Linked DNA regions of Homo sapiens: regions 1 and 2 are each linked to region 3. Evidence: promoter capture Hi-C in 16 types of primary human blood cells and fetal thymus (Javierre and others, 2016). All regions are on one chromosome and are shown on one strand. The core of a region is centred on a gene start or on the middle of the fragment in contact, and the rest is flanking DNA. Distances in the headings are between cores, read along the strand shown. Region 1 overlaps RNF157 (ring finger protein 157). Region 2 overlaps SRP68 (signal recognition particle 68). Region 3 holds the start of EXOC7 (exocyst complex component 7).

The links. Contacts are between HindIII fragments. The CHiCAGO score rates a contact against its expected background, and 5 or more counts as called.
Region 1: a fragment that was not itself captured here is called in contact with the fragment with the promoter of EXOC7 in region 3 in 3 of 17 cell types (M1 macrophages, endothelial precursors and megakaryocytes); the score reaches 6.4 in M1 macrophages.
Region 2: a contact is called between a fragment that was not itself captured here and the fragment with the promoter of EXOC7 in region 3, in 1 of 17 cell types (endothelial precursors). The highest score is 5.2, in endothelial precursors.

What each region holds. Positions count from the first base shown.
Region 1 is chr17:76,223,265-76,225,964 of GRCh38, forward strand. The region is part of intron 1 of RNF157 (ring finger protein 157); the gene reads right to left. It also overlaps the pseudogene ATF4P3. Among named protein-coding and RNA genes, the nearest start is that of RNF157, 16 kb to the right of the region's middle. The HindIII fragment of the contact is 221 bases long and covers 1,229-1,449 here.
Region 2 is chr17:76,037,679-76,040,378 of GRCh38, forward strand. SRP68 (signal recognition particle 68) reads right to left here. Exons shown (of 16, transcript NM_014230.4): 16 at 1,107-2,255. The coding sequence ends at 2,028. Among named protein-coding and RNA genes, the nearest start is that of EVPL, 12 kb to the left of the region's middle. RefSeq lists an enhancer at 2,480-2,700. The HindIII fragment of the contact is 2,268 bases long and covers 317-2,584 here.
Region 3 is chr17:76,102,391-76,105,090 of GRCh38, forward strand. EXOC7 (exocyst complex component 7) reads right to left here and starts at 1,397. Exons shown (of 19, transcript NM_001013839.4): 1 at 1,243-1,397; 2 at 971-1,036. The coding sequence starts at 1,302. The HindIII fragment of the contact is 3,319 bases long and covers 1-2,168 here.

The sequences.
Region 1 (2,700 bases), core at 89-2,588, 120 kb after region 3:
GCAACATCCGCCTCCCAGGTTCAAGTGATTCTTCTGCCTCAGCCTTGCAAGTAGCTGGGATTACAGGCATGTGCCACCAAACCTGGCTAATTTTTGTATTTTTAGTAGAGACGGGGTTTCACCATGTTGGCCAGACTGGTCTCGAACTCCTGACCTCAGGTGATCCATCCGCCTCGGCCTCCCAAAGTGCTGGGATTACAGGCATGGGCCACCATGCTCGGCCAAGGTTCTTTACACATAAACAATACCTGACTCTTCCTTTTCCTGTACTGTAATAGGAAAAAAGAAAGAGGGATAATGAATTGATGATAAAATGCTTAACCATATAAAACCCAAATTTTTTTCTTTCTGACAAACAGGAATTGTAAATCAAACCCCTTAGTCTCAAAAACATTTTGTTTTCCACATAAACGTTAAATATTGTGTTTTACATATCTAGTGGAAGAACCACTAAGTTCAACGTACAGCCTCCCTGTTCAGAATAAAATATGGAATATAATGAAACAAAAAACCAAACAGACTGCACTGCCCAACTTTATATTTTTGGAAACAAAAGCAAAATAACTCTGAACCTCAGTAAAAAATGTTAGAACATGCAGTGTTTTCAACACATACACAATTCATATACAACTTTGCAGAGCACCATCAGAAAGAAGTAAGTATAATAACACAGGGCAAGGCCCACACTGGCCAGAGCAGCTCCAGACACTACTCCTTAACATCTGACTTTATCTTAGTCACTATCAGCACTTTCTGGCTCTACAAGAACTCAGGGCAATGCAAAGGGAACTTGCATTACACTGAGGGAGCCCTACCCTATCAATGGCAATTTTTGAAGCGAAAGCCCAAAATCAATAAATTGACTTCAACAAAGGAAAATCAACTATTTGTTCCTTATAATGTGAACAAAAAAGAAAAATCTCATTTAAAATTCATTGTATTAAATAATTTGCCTAATCATTTTGAATTTAAGTTTTTGGGACATATTCCTAATACCACAGTGAAATTAAATATTGAGCAATGGGTTCCCTAAATTATGTCTGCCTCAATAAGATATTGTGACATTTGTTAGCAAACCACTATGAATTATAACAACATATAATAAAGGACAATTAAACCCATTTTCTATTCTTCTACAATTCTATGGGAATCTATAGGCTATGGGAATCCTAGTAAATTTTCATATATTTGAAAAAATCTTCATCTACATGACATTTCAATAACAATAAGCTTTAGATCACAAAAATAAGAAGAAAACTAGAAAACTGCAAACACCTCTAAATATTCAGCTCAATTCTATAATGCTACAGTGCTGCTTTTGTTCTTCATTTTTAAGTTTTCCCCCTAGAGCAAGGGTGCCTAATCTTTTGACTTCCCTTGGCCACACTGGAAAAAGAAGAATGGTCTTACGCCACACTTGAAATACACTAACACTACTGATAGCTGATAAGCTTTAAAAAAAAAAAAGAAAGAAACTGCAAAAAAACTCATAATGTTTTAAGAAAGTTTACTAATTTGTGTTGCGCTGCATTCAAAGCCATCCTGGGCCACATGTAGCCCAGCCCATGGGGCGTGGGTTGTACAAACTTGCCCTAGAGCATATTTTTAATTATTTAAAAAATTAGGGCTGGGAGCAGTGGCTCATGCCTGTAATCCCAGCACTTTGGGAGGCCAAGGTGGGCAGATCACTTGAGGTCAGGAGTTCGAGACCAACCTGGCCAACATGGTGAAACCCTGTCTCTACCAAAAACACAAAAATTAGCCGGGTATGGTGGCGGGCATCTGTAATCCCAGCTACTTGGGAGGCTGAGGCAGAAGAATCGCTTGAACCTGGGAGGCAGAGGCTGCAGTGAGCCAAGATTGCACTACTGCACTCCAGCCTAGGCAACAGAGTGAGCCTCCATCTCAAAAATATAAAAATAAAAACAAAAATATTACATGTTAGGTGCAATGGCTCACAACTGTAATCCCAGCACTTTGGGAGGCTGAGGTGGGAGGATCACTTGAGCCCAGGAGTTCAAACCAGCCTGGGCAACATAGCAAGACTCCATCTCCACAAAAAGAAAAAGAAATAGAAATACACAATACATGTCCTTTGCCAAAAAAATTAGTATATATAAGTTAATAATTTAAAATTTAACCCTACTCCATAAGAAGTAACTCCACTATTCACAATTGGGTGTGGCCTTCCAGATTTTTTTATACATATACAAATATGTCCAGGTCTTCCTGTTCTATTATTTTTTTTAATTGAATGGACTATTTGAATGCACATATTGTCTGCATAATTGAATGCACATATTGATCTGCAAGTTGCTTTCACCTAATATACTGTAGGCATCTATGTCTGTATTTATGGCATGACCTCATTGTTTTTAGTGGCCAAATAATATGTATTTTTTTCCCTACAAAATAATTTATTGGAACACACAGCTACAGCAGACACTCTATGTACAAGCACGTTGACACTCCTGACCTACCCTCAACTAGGGGACCCTTTTCTTCCCCCTTGCCTTGCGGACCTCTTCTATCAAATCTTTCAGGTACTGGATCTCCTTGGCCAGGGAATCTGCCCTCTCTTTTAGAGCCTCGTTCTTCTTTTCCAGCTCTTTGCACTCGCCAGTGAGAGCCTCCTGCTCCGCCCTCTTCTTCTGGCGGTACCTAGTGGCTGCTGTCTTGTTTTGCTCCATTTTTTTCAGC
Region 2 (2,700 bases), core at 201-2,700, 65 kb before region 3:
CCCAAAACAAACCCCGGGGGATCAGGGCCTCTCTGCGAGCATCTCAAGGTTCTAAGCCACAACACAATTCTAACAAGAAGCCTGATTTGTGTCTCACCATCCTTTCTAGCTCTTATAGCCTTCCCTCCCTGCAACTTACTGGGAAAACAAAAGGCACAGCCAAGCCCACAGTGGCATTCTAAAACCACCTTTACAAAAATTCTAACGGTGAGATTATTAGAGTGAAAAAGGTCTAGCCTAACCCACTCCATCTTGCTTCTAACCTCCAAGCTGTCCTTGTTCATTCCTGGGAATAAGCCGAACTCACTTTGGGAGAAGCTTACAGTTTACTGTTTAACTTTGAAACAAAGATGGTAACAGCACTTTCCGGAAATAAACCCCCTTCTTGCCTGGGGCCCAGACTGCCTTTGTAGGACTAACGAATTAGCCACAAAAATTGAAATTATGGTTTAGGAGTCATGCAGCCAGAGGCCCAAGATTCTGAACCTTCCCAGTTGCTCCTAGGGATGACATCACTGTTGTAAAACCTAAGAATGGTGCTCGAGATATTTTTCAGACCCTGCACTTTATGGATCAGCTGGCACCATCCATCCAAACTGGCTCATCTGGTCTTGTAGCCCCCACCCAGGAAACCGACTCAGCACAAGAGGCCAGCTTCAACTCCCTATGACTTCATCTCCAACTCCCTGACTTCATCTCCAACTCCCTATGACTTCATCTCCAACCTGACCAATCAGCACTCCCCATTTCCTGACCCCCTACCCACCAAATTATCCTTAAAATTCCCAGTCTCTGAATTTTCAGGGAGACCAATGTGAGTAATAAACTCCAGTCTCCTGTTTAGACGGCTGTGTGTGAACTAAACTCTCTATTGCAATTCCTGTTTCCATGAATCAACTCCATCTGGGCAGCGGGCAAGAACCCTCGGGGGGTTACAATGCCATCCTGAAACAATGCTCTTGGATTTTTAACCAGTCAGCCTTTTCTTCAAGCCACTGGGTTTGCTCAAAAACGGAAAACATCTAAGCCAACATTTCTTGTGACGAATTTTCTTTCCTATGTGACAGATGAGTTTTGATTTCCAAAGGGAATCGTTAAGTGTCAGGTACATGTTTAAATCACTTTTATTCCTTGCTTTCTTACATTGTTTTTGTGACTTCTATTATTGATGTTATAATAGAAGTGAAAAGGGATGACTAAGGAAAAACGGGGGGTAACGAAGGGGATTAAAATATAATGGCATCTAAAAATTACACATTGGGAAGTCCTGAAAAATAGTGCCTCTAACATGTGTATCTGGCATCAGCCTCACCTAGTTGCCGGTAAGTCAGGTTACACTTGACCTCACCGGCTTCACGCAACTAGGCTCCCGAGGAGAGAACGGGGACTGGACATGAGGGAGGGCATATAAGAAATGGGCACAGTCTCCGTCATCTTTGCCTTTTAATATAAGATTTGGTTTCATCATTTCTGAGTGTAACATATTTCTTCTAAAAATAGAGCTCTCTGCTTGTCTGAAACTTCTTAGCGTTCACTGGGAGGTGAAGGGGAATAAGGCTGACCGTAATTCTGGGGTGACGTTGCCAGTTTCATAGTCATAGATAAACTTCTCAAGGGCTCCTGGATGCTCACAGCAAGGATGAGTTCATTTCAAATCCATGGTACTGAAGAAGCATGACAAAGCGTTTCAAGGCCCCATCTGTGCCTGGTGTGGACTCCTGAACGCATTACTGACCAAAGGCAATCAATCACAGCTCACAGGGCACCAGACAGCAGCGGCCCCTTTCCCAGGAGGTACAGGAGACAGGATGACCCTGCACACATTTACCAGAAGACAACAGGGTGCTCTCCTGACACGCTGCTTAAGAACGTGTACAGACACAAGATGTAGGAATGCAGGGCCGAAGATGTTAAACTCTTGCCCCGGGCCAATGCAGACCTGGATTTAATATCATGGAACTTGCTGGGATTTTCTCACAATACAGATTAAGAGTCAGAATCTCCCCCGCCCCCGAGGAAGAGCCTGGTTAGCTCCTGAATCCAAAGATGCCCTTGATGTATCCAGTGAGGCCACTCTTGGTCTTCTGTTCCAACTTGTCCTCAAGGGGTGGGAAAGCCACATGGTTGAGGGCCAGGTCAAAGAACAAAGGCTTGCAGGGAATGGGCTGGAAGCCTGGTGGGAAGTGCACAAGGTTGGCTTGCTTGGTGACAAGGGAAGGGTCCAGGCAGAATGTCTCAAACCGTTCAACCAGAGGCTGGAAGTCAAATCAAAGAGACGTATGTAGCATCGGTCACAGAACACCCTTGGTGAACATTCCTGAGTGCCGACTGCCTGGTTCAGAGCTTTACAGGGGCCATCTCACTCAATCACTCAATCCCGACAGCCTCCTACGAGGAGGGGCTACCACATCCCTGCCTTGTAGTCAAAGTCACTGAAACCCAGAGAGGCTAAGAGAGTGGCAGGCTAGGACTGGGGTGCAGGCCTGTTGGCCATGTTACGAGTTAGAGCTCTTACCCACGGGTGCTACTCTTTACAGCAACAGGTTCCTCAACCCTCTTCCCAGGGATGATCTGACATCTAGGAAGCTTTATGCAAGAAGCTTTGAGGTTGGGTAAGAGAAGGGAGGGAGGTGGGGGGTTTCCTTAGAAATTTAGGGTCCACTGCTCTATAATGAGCATGCATTCCTAGTTTGTTACTAA
Region 3 (2,700 bases), core at 147-2,646:
ACAGTGAGACCCTGTCTACACACACAGACACACACACACACACACACACACACACACACACACACAATTAGCAAGGCGTGGTGGTGTGTGCCTACAGTCCCAGCTGCTAGGAGGCCGAGGCAGGAGGACTGCCTGAGCCCAGGAGTTAGAGACTGCAGTGAGCTACAGTCATGCCACTGCACTCTAGCCTGCACAACACAGCCAGACTCTGCCTCTAAAAAAAAAAATTTAAAAATTAAAATTTTTAGAAAAGGACTAGGACTTTATTATTGTGTGACTAAATGCAAATACAAGTTTGTATTTACTCACTTTGTGCTTTTCCAGTCTCCCCTAGGAATAAAGAAGGAAACTCACTTATTGAGCACCTATTGTATACCAGGCACTGTGCAAGATGCAGTCGCATGCATTAGCGCATATGACCTTCACAGACACACTGGGAGGCTGGCACAGTCTCTGTTTTAGCAGATGAATTCGCTGACACCAGTTACCTATCAGGAGCCGCACATTTAAGCAGAAGGGCAAGGACTAGATCCCAGATCTGCCTGACTTTAGAGCTCTTTCTTTCCCTAAAGTCCTCTGGAGTGAAGGCTGAGTCTTCTCTGCCCTCAGGAATCTCAAAGTGCCAACCTCCTGGGCAGAGAGTCCACTGACAATGACATATGCCCAGTACCTAGCCCAACTGGTCAGACTCACTGAGTGTTTGCAGAAGGAGAGAAGGAAGAATGGCGAGCTTAGACAGAAAGCAGCAAGTCCAGGCCAGTGGGAAGTGCAGCCTCCTCAGTGAGGGTACGGAACATGGGGAGGGGGCTAGGCAGGAGAGATGCCAAACTGTTGCTAGATAAACCCACACACTGCCTCCGTCGCTGCCCATTCCAGAACTCCAGGCCGCAGGAACCGGAACCGCCAGGTCGCAAGGCTCTCCCCCAGGGTCCGGAGGCCTGCCCTCTCCCCCAGCTGCGGGGAGACTCACCATGTTCTTAGTGAGCTGGTCGCTCTTCTCCAGGCTGTCTCGGATGAAGGACAGAGTCTCCTCCTCCTGGGGGCAGGCAAGGGGAGGACATCACCAGAAACCAGAAGCTAAAGGAGACCACTGCGTCCCAACCCCACGGCCTAGCCCCCAACCCCATCTCCTCGCTGGGTGCGCTCCCTCCCACCCCTGCCTCCTCCATGAGTAGACAATCAGGCCCCGCTGTTGGCCCCTTTCCCTCACCTCCTCCCCAGCCTCCCCAGGCCCACGCCCACCTGCTTCAGCTTGTCCTCAATCTCCCGCCGTCGAGCGGATGCCTCCTGTGGGGGAATCATCGCTCTGAACCCCGCGGCTCCCACTCCCCAGTATCTTTCCTCCGCGGGCCCACCGGGCCCCCGTCCCCGTCACACCCACTTCCGCTCTTGGTCCCGCCCCGGGACGCCTGGGCGGAGCCATGTTGGGAATCGCAGGCTGAAGTGCGCCTGCGCGGAGCCCAAGAACGGACCGACGGCCATTTTGAGCGTGGCTGGGAAGAGAAGTGTATTCGGATGCTGCAAGGGACCTCGACGCGGGTTCCTTGCCTCAGCAGAGGTTTTCGATCGGCCTTATGTCCCGCGGCTGGCAGGACACTTAGAGCTCACTTGCTGTTTTCGTTGAAAGACCGACCCTTTTGATAAAGACTGCTGGGGAAGGCGACGAATTCCTTTCCCCAGGTCGCATTCTATGGGCAGGCACCAAGGCCAATTGCGTTTCCCACAAAGCCCCGCACGGAGCAGGTGACACAGTAGATGCCTAACGTGTGTCCATGTAATGAACCAGGGGCTTGTGTACTTGTTTCCGCCTTCCACCCTGCATTACGCAAAAACGTATCCTGTGGGCTGGCGGGGCTGCTCCGGAGCTCCAGGCCCAGACCCAGCGTCCAACTGCAGCTCCAGGGGACGGGGTGGGGGGCGCCCCTGGATCAACTTCCCTGCGGGGCTGGATGTTGTGGTTGCAGACCCAGCTCCTGCAAAACCTCGAGTTACTCCTTCCTCTAACCCGTCCCTGCCCACCCTGCCTCTGGCCCCCAGCCTTGAGAAAGGACAAGGCCGACCAGCTTGGTTCAGTCCTTCTGTGGCCTCAGTGTCCAGACACCCGGAAGATAGACAAGGAGGCATGTGCTGGTAGATGAGAAGGTTTGGGGCGGGCAGGGGGGACACCAAGCTTTTTTTTTCCTTTCTTTTCTTTTGAGAGAGAGTCTCACTCTGTCGCCCAGGCTGGAGTGCAAGTGGCACGATCTTGGCTCATTGCAGTCTCTGCCTCCCGGGTTCAAGTGATTCTCGTGCCTCAGCGTCCCGAGTAGCTGGGATTACAGGCGGCTGCCAACACGCCCGGCTAATTTTTTTGTATTATTAGTAGAGACAGGGTTTCGCCATGTTGCCCAGGCTAGTCTCGAACTCCTGACCTCAAGTGATCCACCCGCCTTGGCCTTCCAAAGTCCTGAGATTACAGGCGTGAGCCCCTGCTCCCGGCCTAAGGAGAGAAGGAGAGAAGGAAGAACCCAAGCTCTAGGGTTCCCAAGCGCTCACTCCACCCATAGTCACCCGAAGAGGAGGAGGAGGAGGAAGTGGGTGCACAGAGCCTGGAGAGGGATGGGCAGCCTTCCCTCAGGCAAGAGGACAATTTCAATCCTGTTGTAGGTGGGGGAGATAAAAGGCTGATTCCTGTGTCAGGAAATACCCAGGATGATTTCG